Regions from separate parts of the Homo sapiens genome. Here region 2 is linked to region 1. Evidence: promoter capture Hi-C in human tissues and cell types (Jung and others, 2019). All regions are on one chromosome and are shown on one strand. Each heading gives the region's core, a stretch centred on a gene start or on the middle of the fragment in contact. The rest is flanking DNA. Distances are from core to core; before and after follow the strand shown.

Region 1 (6,118 bases), core at 3,196-5,695:
ACTCTATCTTCCATAGATTTGAACAACTACAATAAGCTTGGGCAAGTAACAATGCACTTAGAACTGTTTCACTATCAATGAAAATGTACCATAGGTTGAGCATCCTTAATCCAAAAATCCAAATTGCTACAAAACCTTTCCAGGAAGAGTACATGGGAAAAGAAAAATAAATAAATAGACCAGGAGCAGTGGCTCACGCCTGTAATCCCAGCACTTTGGGAGGCCAAGGTGGGCAGATCACCTGAGGTTGGGAGTTTGAGACTAGCCTGACCAACATGGAGAAACCCCGTCTCTACTAAAAATACCTAATTAGCCGGGCGTGGTGGTGCATGCCTGTAATCCCAGATACTCAGGAGGCTGAGGCAGGGGAATTGCTTGAACCCGGGAGGCGGAGGTTGCAGTAAGCCGAGATCATGCCATTGCACTTCAGCCTGGGCAACAAGAGCGAAACTCCATTTCAAAAAAAAAAAAAACCCACAAAAAGAAAAGAAAAAAAAATAAAAATATGCCAGGCACAGTGGCTCACGTCTGTAATCCCAGCACTTTGGGAGGCCAAGGCGGGTGGATCATGAGGTCAGGAGATCAAGACCATCATGGATAACATGGTGAAACCCCGTCACTACCAAAAATACAAAAAATTAGCCAGGCATTGTGGTGGGCGCCTGTAATCCCAGCTACTCGGGAGGAGAGGAGGCTGAGGCAGGAGAACTGCGTGAACCTGGGAGGCAGAGCCTGCAATGAGCCGAGATCACGCCACTGCACTCCAGCCTGGGTGACAGAGTGAGACTCCGTCTCAAAATAAATAAATAAATAAAAATAATAAAAAATGCTACAAAACCTGAAACTTTTTGACCATTGATATGATGCCACAAGGGGAAAATTCCATACCTGATACCTTTGCTTTTTTTTTTTTTTTTTTTTTTTTTTGAGACAGAGGCTTGCTTTGTCGCCCAGGCTGGAGTGCAGTGGCGCAATCTCGGCTTACTGTAAGCTCTGCCTCCCAGGTTCACGCCATTCTCCTGCCACTGCCTCCCGAGTAGCTGGGACCACAGGCACCTGCCACCACGCCCAGCTGATTTTTTTTTTTTTTTTGTATTTTTAGTAGAGACGGGGTTTCACTGTGTTAGCCAGGATGGTCTCAATCTCCTGACCTTGTGATCCACCCGCCTTGGCCTCCCAAAGTGCTGGGATTACAGGCGTGAGCCACTGCACCCGGCCCTTTGCTTTCTGATGATTCAATGTATACAAGCTTTGTTTCATGCACAAAATTATTTAAAATATTGTATGAAATTACCTCAGACTACATGTATCAGGTATATATAAAACAGGCCAGGCACGGTGGCTCATGCCTGTAATCCTAGAACTTTGGGAGGCTGAGGCGGGTGGATCACCTGAGGTCAGGAGTTCGAGACCAGCCTGGTCCAACATGGTAAAACCCCATCTCTACTAAAAATACAAAAATTAGCTGGGCCTGGTGGTGGGCACCTGTAATCCCAGCTACTCCAGAGGCTGAGGCAGGAGACTCACTTGAACCTGGGAGGCGGAGGTTGCAGTGAGCCGAGATCGTGCCACTGCACTCCAGTCTGGGCAACAGAGCAAGACTCTGTCTCAGAAGAAGAAACATAAATGAATTTTGTGTTTAGACTTGGGTCCCATTCCCAAGATATCTTAGTATCTATATGCCAATATCCCAAAATCTGAAAAAAAAAATCCAAAATCTAAAACACTTCTGGTGATACTCAACCTGTAAACATCTATCTCACGGTGATTCTTTTCCTAGCCTAGTGCACACACCCTCTTCTGACCTGCCCATATCCCTTCTCAACAGACTGTCAAAACCTGATTTCTGTCTACAAGACCCCCAAAACTAAACCTGAACTAGACAAGATATTGAACAATATACTGGCTCTTCATATCTAGGTCTAAAAAATAAATTGAATGCCAATATCAAAGCAAACCATCCATTTTCTTAAGAGATATAAGAACTCTGTATTCCAGTGAAAATGGAGCTTCACAGAGTACCTTAGATTTGTCTGTCAGAGACTCCAGATATGAATGGTTTCCGTAAGGAACAAGTCGGTATCTAAAATAGAGATACAAACAGAGATGGATACAGGACTCCTCCCAAAGTGATTATTGGGAAGTTACAACCCAATGATTTCACTCTTCATTCTGGCCAAGGGCTTCTTTTATTATGCTCAACTCCCTCTCCCACCTCCCCATTGAATCCATGTTTAAAAGATTTTGTTTAATGAACAAACTACATTTATTATATAATTGCCTGGGGGCCTTCCATGAACAAATGTTATGTTTTGGTTTAAATTTAAGAAACAAAAACTGAAAATATCCTGAGGAACACTAAGGCTCTGGGGACTGTAGGCTGGGAACTATGCTATAGTCACGCAACTCAGTGACTGTGTGATCAGTGGAGAGAGCCCTGTGATGAGGGGAAAATCAGATGCTGACAGCTCTTCAGCCACAGAAAACTCCCAGTCTGTGGGCAGCAAGGGCTCCTGACATGGTGGACAGCAGTACCAGGTTGGAGATACAAATTATATCAATGCACATCACTCCCCAAGAAAGGGCTACACTTCCTACCTCTGAAATTTCAGACCCATCTTATTGGCCAGAGCATGGAGCAGCAACACAGTCTGGCCCCAAGCAGCATTAATCTCATTCCATTCCACGGGAACACTGGGCAGGCGACCCAGCCTGAAGTTATTGATTGTGCCAAACTGTCCACTGTGCCTACAGAGGAAGGCAGAAAGGTGGGGGGAAATACAGGGATTACTTAAAAAGTTTGACATTTCCCACTCTCACCCCAAACCTAGCTTAAATCTATCTTCAAGTCCATATATGCAAGCTGTACTTGGCACTTTAAATACATGTCCAAAACTTGAGTCATCATCTTTTTCCCTGCTGCTCAGATGCCAAAGCAGAAACCTGGGTGGTATCCTTGAATGCTCCCTCAGCTCCTTCCGTGCAAAACTGCCAACCTCTCCTGATTCTACCTGCTAAATATCTTGGATCTTTCCACTTTTCTCCAAATTCAATGCTACTATTCTTTTCCTTTAGATTCCTACTGATGAGTATCCTTTCCAACGATTCCACCCCTTTACCCCAAGTCATTCCCCATGGTGCAGGAAAAGCCATCATTCACGAATACAAGTGTAATTACGTCACTTCCCTAGCTAAAATGCTTCAGTGTCTCCTCTGCCTTTTGGATGAAGTCCAAACCTCTTAACGAGGCCTACGAGATCCTTCAGGAACTGGTAACTCTCCAGTTTCATATCCGGCCACTCTCCCCTTTACACTCAATCTTCAGTCACAATAAGCTCCTTTCTGTTCTCTGAATTCACCACTCCCTCTTTCCCATTTCTTTGCACATAATGTTCTCTCTGCTAGGAACAACCCCCTCTCTGCAGACTTCTACTTTACCTCTCAGTTTAAACGTAAGTCCCCTATGGGGAAACTCTCCATATGGCCTCCCCAAACTGGATCAAGTGCCCTTATGTGTTCCCACAGCACCCTGGGTTTACCATCATCACACTGCATTACAACTGCTTGTTATTTATCCATCTCTTCCACCAGATTATATGCAACTAGAAGGTTGACTGCATACTGTTTTGCTGTTGCCCTCCTAGCACTCAGCACAGTGCCTTTTCCAGAGTAGACACTCAACAGTTATTAAATTAATGGAACATCAAACACCGTGGGGATAAGAAATCAGCACCAGACAGCTTACCAGGTTTTTAAGTGGCTGAAGGGCTCAGGCCTTTTCCTTTCTTTAGAAGGGCGGATGTCACCAAGCTCTAGAATTCCAATCCCTACTGTGCCTATCCCATCACTATGAATGAAAGAAACCTAGTTGGGTGAAGATAACCTACAGTCCCTCTTTTGTGGGAAGTGGGCACCCAGGCTTAGTGGTCAACAGCTAAGGTCTAGATATGTGCAGTGCTCCTCATCCCCTAGCTCTCATTACCAGATGTGGAAGGTTGCATTAAAGACGTTGGTTTTCTTCAGCTTATCCAGCTGCGTCTGGGCATAACGCATCTGGTTTTCAACACTCTTCAGCTCATCATCCAGCTCCAGCTGCTGTCGTTTAAATTCACTGTATTCTCTCTGATACCTGTGAGCAGCCAAGGGGGCCATTGAAGGCTGTTAGCTTGGGGGCTAAAGTTTCTCTCTCACCACACTATGAACGATTCTTTAGTGATCATCGTTACATCTAGCTCTCGCATCTTTTATATTTGGCATAGATCCCATTCTGAGGAACATGTATGTCCTAGCTGTTTTGCCTGGAAGGAACAGAAATGTCTCAAATTCCAGCTGCCCATATGCAAAAAGGTGGAGGAAAAAAGAATTCTCCCAAACCAGGGCAAAAAACCTCTTATTTCTGATCTTTTTCAGAAGTGAGGTGAATGGGTTAGGAGTGGCTTCTTGGGGCCAGGCGTGGTGGCTCACACCTGTAATCCCAGCACTTTGGGAGGCCAAGACGGGTGGATAACTTGAGGTCAGGAGTTCGAGAGCAGTCCGGCCAATGTGGTGAAACCCTGTCTCTACTAAAAATACAAAAATTAGCCAGGCGTGGTGGTGCACACCTGTAGTCCCAGCTACTTGGGAGGCTGAAGTGGCAGAATTGCTTCAACCCAGGAGGCAGAGGTTGCAGTGAGCTATCACACCACTGTACTCCAGACTGGGCAACAGAGCCGAGACTCTGTCTCAAAAAAAAAAAAAAAAAAGAGTGGCTTCTGCTTCTTCTGGGCCGGGTGCAGTGGCTCACACCTGTAATCCCAGCACTTTGGGAGGCTGAGGTGGGCAGATCACCTGAGGTCAGGAGTTAGATGCCAGCCTGGCCAACATGGTGAAATTCCGTCTCTACTAAAAAAATAAAATTAGCCAGGCGTGGTGGCGCACGCCTGTAGTCCCAGCTACTTGGGAGGCTGAGGTAGGAGAATCGCTTGAACCTGGGAGGTGGAGGTTGCAGACAACTGAGATCATGCCACTGCACTCCAGCCTAGGCAACAGAGTGAGACTCTGTCTCAAAAAAAAACCAAAATCAAAAACAAAAAACAGTGGCTTTTTCCAGCTGGCCATGGTGGCTTATGCCTGTAAACCCAGCACTTTGGGAGGCTGAGGCAGGTGGATCACTTGAGCTCAAGAGTTCAAGACCAGCCTGGGCAACATGGGGAAACTCCATCTCTATAAAAAATACAAAAATTAGCCAGGTATGGTGTTGCGCGCCTGTAGTTCCAGCTACTTGGGAGGCTGAGGCGGGAGGATTGCTTAGGTGTAGGAAGTCAAGGCCGCAGTGAGTCATGACTGCACCACTGCACTCCAGCCTGGATGACAGAGTAAGACTCTGTTTCTAAAAAAAAAAAAAACAAAAAAACAGTGGCTTCTTCCATGAACTGGCCATAATTGGCCTTCTAAAGCTTCATTTCTATACACTTACTGTCCTTTAAATAGTTACTATACCCCACTTCCAGTGAAACTTGTTATACTACTGTGTGAAAAAAATGGACTTTTCTCTATCCTTCATTTCCACAACTTCAGTTAGTATGGACACTGTGTGTCCTCCACTAGAGAGAGGGTTCTCTCAGGTCAAGGACATCTATAATGTTTTTATTTTTTGAGACAGGGTCTCAACTCTGTTGCCCAAGCTGGAGTGCAGAGGTGTGATCACAGCACACTGTAACCTCAAACTCCTGGGCTCAAGTTATCCTCCACTTCAGCCTCCTAAGTAGTTGCTAGGACTACAGGTCTACCACAGCAGCCTAATTTTTTTTTAATTTTCATTTTTGTAGAGATGGGGTCTCACTTGATATTGCCCCAGATGGCCTTAAATCCTGGCTTTAAGTGATCCTTCTGCCTTGGCCTCCCAAAGTGCTGGAATTACAGATATGAACGACCATACCTGGCCCCCATGAAATGTTTAAGCTTGGAGGGAACAAATGTAGGCTAATTAGCTCATCTTTTCAGCTAAGGATGGCTAGAAAGTGGCTGATTCATCCAAATGAGCCCATTCCCTACAGGACAGAGCCAAGACTGGAGCTCTGGTTTCTGCACTATTTAACCAACATACTTTTTTCACTTAATCATGCTGACTCTTCATAGG
Region 2 (6,617 bases), core at 2,609-5,108, 130 kb before region 1:
ACCGAACTCAGCTGGGGAGACTGACTTGGATTCTAAGGAATTCTGTGGTCTCCGAATACAGTGGAGGCCTCTTAGGGCTAATATCCTGCGGCTCTGTATAGGAAGGGGTTAACTCAGGCGCTAGGCGGCCGGGGCGGGGCCGCGGCCTCCGCGGGCGCGCGCGCGCGTTGCTGACTCAGCGGCGATTCCAGAGATCTTGGATGGAGGGTTCCAGGTCGGTCCCCAGTGGCTGGCGTGTGGGACCCTTTGAGGATCGGCGCCGTCTCCGGGCCTTCCCTGGATCCTGGCCCCTAGAGGCCGTGGGGGACCCCTTTTCGCCGCTGCTGCGGGAGGCTCTGAGGACTGCTAGCCTGGGCAGGGCTGGGCTGGGCGGGGAGGGGCGGGGAAGGGCGGGACGGGCGGGGCCGTCAGGCCAGCACCTCCCTTGAGACCTCCTCGCCACGCCCCGCCCTTCTCGACCCTAGACTCCAGGCTGGAGCGGTGGGGACAGCTTTGCTGACCGATATTAAACCGCGAGAACTGTCGCACGTGAACACCATCCTGCCCGTTGTGATTGTGTAAAACAAAGACCAGGAATCAATGCGAGCGTGTCTAGGAGGCCATCTCGGCCGTGGCCTCTCTCCACATGAGAGTGGCCTGTACTGAGAGATTACCTAGGAATGGAGATACCACAACCATCTTCCAGGTCTGGATCCCAGGCCCTTGCCTGCAGAGAAGTTTTTTCCCATATCCAACCTCTCTCTTTCCGGCCAGCTCAGTGCATTTCCTCTGACCCAGTCCCCAGAGAAGATGGAGAACAGCAAATATCCCTCACCCCCACCACACCCGTGATAACTACTCTGGAAATTTGCAGATTGCAATCCCTCCTAGGTTTTTCTTCAAGGTGGAAAAACTTCAACTCAAATTTTACAATTCATTTTTTCATTTTTTCTTTCCATCACAGACACTAGGAAGGGATTGTAAAGTGGTTATGAAATCCAAACGCCCACCAAAAACGGGAATCCCCTGCCCCTCCCCCTCCCCCCACACCACGCAAAGGCCCACAGCGTCCCCGACAGTCTGAACATTCCAATAGCGGGAACTCAGTATTTGCTAAGGCAGCCATTACTGGAGAGCGCTCTGGTTGTTAGAAAGCTCTTCCTTACAGTATTGCAAGAGGAACCACCGCCCCTCCTTGCCTGGCAGCTTTCCCACCTCACCTCTGTTGGCTGAGGCCAGGTGACGGTGGAGGGGGTGTCAGTGGCTAGAGCTTTAGCAGACTCAGCAGCCCCCCACCCCCACCCAGGCCCTCAGCGTCTTCCACTCAGAGAGCCAAGCGCGGGGCAGGGCGGGGGGTGGGGCGGGGGCGGGGTGTTAACCCACCGGTTCTGCCCCGCCACAAATCACTTCCAAGTCGGTGACTCAAAAATAGTAACAGTTGTTGGGTTGCATCTCATTTCCATGTTATCAATTTAATGTGGCAAGGCACAGAGGTAGTCCCTTTAGGTCCCTGCCTCTTTCTCAGTGTTCCCCCACCTACTCCCCTTTCCCACGACCCTCAGCCTGCCCCCTCCTCTAGATTCGCAGCCCTAGTTGTCCCAGGAGAGACTGTGGGTCTCCGTGGGAGCTGAGCAGGAAGAAAGGCGGGGCCGGCGGGGGCAGCCGCGGCGGGGTTGAGGCCCTGAGGGGCAGCTCCCACCCCGTAGCAGCCTCCGCAGGTCCTGGCGGAAGCGCAGGCCCAGGAAGGCGTAGAGAACGGGATTGAGGCCACAGCGGGCGAGGGCCAAGCCGCTGGTCACCAGCAGTGCGACATCCTTGCGTTTGCTGGCAGGGCAGCTCCGCTCGCGCGCAGCCAGTAGATCGGCAGTATCCAGCAGCAGGGCGAGGCTGTAGGGCAGCTGCAGCACCACGAAGGCCGCCACCAGAGCCACCACGACGCGCAGCGCACGCCGGCGCTCGGGCCCCCTGGCGGCCAGCAGCGTGCGGCCCAGAAGCGCGTAGCAGGCTACCATGACGCCCAGCGGCAGCGCGAAGCCCAGGGCCACCTGCGCCACGGCGCTCGCCCCCTTCACCGTCTGCGTGAGGCCCTCGGGGAAGATGAGGCGACAGCGTCGTTGGCCTTCCCGCTGCCCATCCTGGCTGAAGAGCAGCGCAGGCAGCGCCAGGAGCAGTGACAGCAGCCACACGATGACGGAGACCAAGTGTGCGCGGCCGGGAGTGGAGGGCCGCGGCCCGGCTGGGAGCGCTCGCGCGATGGCCACGTAGCGGTCGGCGCTGATACAGGCCAGGAAGAGGAAGCCGGCGTGGAAGGAGGCCGAGTAGAGGCCAGAGATGGTGCGGCAGGTGGCACTTCCCAGACTCCAGCCCTGAAGAGCCCCTGCTGCCGCGAAGGGCAGAGTCAGGGCCAGCAAGAGGTCGGCCAGGGCCAGCTGGAGCAGGTGGGCAGAGGTGGGCGAGCGCGCTGCGCGTCGGGCTGCCAGGTGGGTGGCCAGGACCAGGCCATTGCCGGCCAGACCCAGCGCAGCCACGGTCAGGGAGACACTGGGTTGGAAGGCCCGGCTGAAGGCCTGGACATCGGCCTTGTAGCAAAGCTCCGGCAGTGGCTCAGCCGAGTATGCGTCCTCTTCATCCCCAGAGTAATGGCCCCAGGAAACCTGGGAGGGTCAAATGAGAGGCGGGATCTTATGAGACACATCTGACCACACAACTCCCCCGCCCACACTTGCCTTCCAAGCTGAGAGCTCCTGTGTGGCCAGATGTAACAGTACACGGGGAGACATAAGCTCTTCTCCAGACTCTTCCTAGCACACCTTCAGCAGGCCTTGGCTTCCCTTGCACCCCTCCTACCTCTGCTTCCAGCTTCCTGGGTGACCTTGAGCAAGCCACTTGCTCTTTCTAGACCTCAGTTACCTAACCTGTAATGTTGAGATTATAAATCCTGACCAGCCCACCTCTCAAGGTTTGCTGTGAAGATGGCAATATGGAAAATAATGGATGGGGAGAACCTGTGTTCTCCAAAGGCCATAATACAAAGTTTGTATTATTATTATTATTTATTATTATTATTATTGGAGACAGAGTCTTGCTCTGTCGCCCAGGCTGGAGTGCAGTGGCACGATCTCGGCTCACTGCAACCTCCGCCTCCGGGTTCAAGAGATTCTCCTGCCTCAGCCTCCCAAGTAGCTGGGACTACAGGCGCCCACCACCACGCCCAGCTAATTTTTGTATTTTTAGTAGAGATGGGGTTTCACCATGTTGGCCAGGATGGTCTCGAACTCCTGACCTCAGGTGATCCGCCCACCTTGGCCTCCCAAAGTACTGGGATTACAGGCCTGAGCTACCACGCCCAGCCCAAAGTTTGTATTATTAATAAATCCTACAGCTTCAGTTCCCTTTGCAGCGCCCTCTCCTGGAAGGATGCCCATATGCAGGCTTTGCCTCAGACCTGAGCCCTGGACTCCAACCTCCGTCTGGAGTGGGTTTCTGTTTCTCTTCTTTCCCTTCCATACCCACCTTCCCTGTACCTCCAATACCAGCACACTGAACCACTCATGCCAAGGGGGTCTCCAGGGTTGGGACTCAGGTTTTCAGGGCCCAGGTGGGACCCTGGACCTCTAGGTTCAACCCGCCTTTCCCCTCAGCCCTAGTCCCTGTCCCACAACCCCAGCCTCACACCACCAGCCCATTTATCTGGAGGACCCCTAGTCTGAGACAGCGCCAAGAATCCTGAATAAGCCATAGGATGGCAGAGGCCCATTGCCAGGTGGGGAATCCCATTCCTTCCCTGTCTCCTCCCTCTCTGTAACCCTTCTCCCCCTCCCTGCCCCCACTCCCACCTGCTCTGTGGCCTCCGTCCCCATCTCTGGCTACACAGGTTTCTGAGGTATAGCCACAGGGGGTAGAAGTTAAACTACTAGCGGGACAGGAAGGAAGAGGCGGGGAGAGGGGCCGAGAGGGAGGTGGGGATTAGGGTCTACGGGGTCACTTTCCCATTCCACCTCCTCCAAAAGACTTCACTCTCTTGTGCAGGATCTGGATTTTACGAAAAAAAAAAAAAGAAGAAGAAAGGAAGGAAAGAGGAAAGAAAGAAAGAAAGAAAGAAAAAAAGGAAGGAAAGAAAGAAAAAAGAATGAACGAAAGAAAGAAAAAATAATTTACTGTCTTTGTCAGTGAAGAAAGAACGGGCTTCGGAATATAATCATTTGCTGTGTGATATTGACTAAGTTTCTTGACCTCTCTGAGCCTGAGGTTTTTCATCTGCAAAGTGGAGTAGGGCAAAAATGCTAAATTCACAGTGCCCAGCACCACTCCTAGAGCATAATTTGCCTTCCGAAAATGTTAAGATTCTTTTACTTACCCTTCATTCCATTTCCAGGCACCCCTCCCCCAAACCACCTCCCTTTTCTTGAAATTTTCAGGATGCTTCTGGCCCTAGGTTCCCTGTCCTCACTCCTGTGGCCCTAGTCCCGGGCAGCCTCGGGTTACTTGGGGTTTTCCCGGTGGCGAGAGGCTCTCTACCCCCGCCCTTTCGCAGCAGGGCTGAGGCACGCGCTTGCGCGGGGTCCGGGAAACCGGCGCGTGCCAGGAGACAGAGGCTGGGGAAGGGGGGAGGTGAGAGGAAAGAGGGTGGAAAGGAGAGGATAGAGAGAGAAGAGCGGAGGACCAGGAACCAGAGAGAGAGAGAGAGAAAAGAGAGAGGAGAGACAGAGCGCTTGGGGGCGAAAGGAGAGAGGGAGGGAAGGGTGGGTAAGGAGGAGAGAGCGGTCTGCTGCAAACCCCAGGAGGAGAGCTTGGAGCCCAAGCCAGAACTCGAGCCCTAGCCGGAGCCGTTCACAGGGAGGCGGCTGCCGGGACCGTCAGCCCTGCATGATGCATCTCCGGCTCTTCTGCATCCTGCTCGCCGCGGTCTCAGGAGCCGAGGGCTGGGGCTACTGTGAGTGTTGGGCTTGGAGGCAGGTGGGGTTGGGCCCAGGAGTCCAGAGCCTGCAGGGCGGCCCCGAACCGCATTGCGGCTGGGTGGTCGCGGGTCCTTCCCGGCCGGCGCGCGCCCGCTGGCTCTCATCTTTTCCTGCCTCTCCCCCGCGCTCCGCATTGCAGCTCTGAGGCTGCCGCGCGCGCCCGGGGCTGGGGCTGGGCTCTGGGAAGAGGATGAAGTCAGCGGGCAGGGATTTGGGGTTGGGATCCAAGCAGGAGCTGGTGCCTGGGTTTGAGGCTAGGGCTGGGGGATAAGTGTATACTGGTGACCGATACTAGGATTAAGGTTTTGCCAGGGCTTAAGGCTGGACTTTGGAGCTGGCCAAGGGGTGGGGTTTGTGGCTAGGGCTGGGGTTTGTGGCTGGGGCTGGGTTTTGTGGCAGGGATCCAAGCAGGAGCTGGTGCCCCTGACTGATGCTAAGGCTGGACATGGAGCTGGTGATGGTGCTAGCACTGGCTGAGGTTGGGTGCAAGGCCTGTATTTGGGGATGGTGCAGGTTTTGGGGGCCGAGTTGGATTGAGGCTAGGGTTGGAGCTGGATTGGTGTCTTGGGTTGACTTAGGTTGTGGAAGATGCTGAGGTTTAGGATTGAGTTTGGGAAAGTACTAAACCAGGGCAGGTATTGGGCTAGCTAGGGAGGGTCTGGCCTTGGGCCTATAGGTGTAGCCTAGGGGTTTGCCTAGAAGGAGAAGGTAGCCTCCTCTGAGCATGCAGCTGTTGCTGCAGCCAGGATTGAATAGATGGCTTTAAGGTAGGGCTGGGTGTGCCTCTGGGGGCGGGGGTTGGGGGCACGGAAGGGGAAGCTTCGGTCGCTAAGTGGGCCGGCCTTTGGAAGGGTCTGGGAGGGGCCAGCGCTGACTAACAGTCGGTTTCCCTACCCTAGACGGCTGCGACGAGGAGCTGGTGGGTCCCCTGTATGCACGCTCCCTGGGCGCCTCCTCCTACTACAGTCTCCTTACTGCGCCGAGATTCGCCAGGCTGCACGGTGAGCTCCGCGGAACATCAGCTGCCAACTGGCAGCGCACCGCGGAAGGGTGGGGGCCTCCGGAGGACTTCGGGGAGAGGGATAGCCGGTTAAAGCTCCTGTCCTTTCTATAGGCATAAGCGGGTGGTCACCACGGATTGGGGATCCGAATCCCTGGCTCCAGATAGACTTAATGAAGAAGCACCGGATCCGGGCCGTGGCCACACAGGGCTCCTTTAATTCTTGGGACTGGGTCACACGTTACATGCTACTCTACGGCGACCGAGTGGACAGCTGGACACCGTTCTACCAGCGAGGGCACAACTCGGTACTCTGGGCGCCAAGGCGGTAACACTTGGGGAGCTTCCTCTGCTCCAGGCTCTGGGCCGGGCACCAGCCTCTGGGAAAATGGAGGGGGTGGTGGTGAGGGCTCGGACAAGGAGCAGTGACTCCACTCCAGGGACTCTGTCCAGAGGGACTGTCAGCTTAGGACGTGCGCGAAACACTCGGTTCACAGGGTTTAACACACTTTAGGGTAAAACCTGGGAGAGCTTCCTAAGGAGGTGACATTTGATTTCAGGTCTGAGGAAATAATAGGATTGTGGGACAGGGCACTTTATGGAAACTGTGCGGGCAAAGCCGCCAAGCAGGGAAGACCAAGGAGTGTTTACTTTCCAGAAGTCGAGATTGGCTGGGTGTG

The links. The method cuts DNA at HindIII sites, captures the fragments that hold promoters and counts their contacts. A contact is called where the count stands out against the background at its distance.
Region 2: the fragment with the promoter of CCR10 here is called in contact with a fragment that was not itself captured in region 1 in 4 of the 25 tissues and cell types used here (dorsolateral prefrontal cortex, lymphoblastoid cells, mesendoderm cells and 1 more).

What each region holds. Positions count from the first base shown.
Region 1 is chr17:42,811,926-42,818,043 of GRCh38, forward strand. It overlaps BECN1 (beclin 1), which reads right to left. Exons shown (of 12, transcript NM_001313998.2): 8 at 3,983-4,129; 9 at 2,599-2,748; 10 at 2,023-2,083. Among named protein-coding and RNA genes, the nearest start is that of MIR6781, 9.0 kb to the right of the region's middle. RefSeq lists an enhancer at 5,855-6,118. The HindIII fragment of the contact is 7,607 bases long and covers 643-6,118 here.
Region 2 is chr17:42,677,985-42,684,601 of GRCh38, forward strand. It overlaps CCR10 (C-C motif chemokine receptor 10), which reads right to left and starts at 3,859. Exons shown (of 2, transcript NM_016602.3): 1 at 3,816-3,859; 2 at 905-2,633. The coding sequence starts at 3,839. The coding sequence ends at 1,569. It overlaps CNTNAP1 (contactin associated protein 1), which reads left to right and starts at 4,547. Exons shown (of 24, transcript NM_003632.3): 1 at 4,547-4,912; 2 at 5,837-5,938; 3 at 6,052-6,245. The coding sequence starts at 4,846. RefSeq lists enhancers at 1-162, 2,013-2,861, 4,080-4,698, 4,642-4,691, 4,952-5,001 and 2 more and silencers at 51-130, 481-570, 3,247-3,541, 5,787-6,081. The HindIII fragment of the contact is 6,302 bases long and covers 1,567-6,617 here.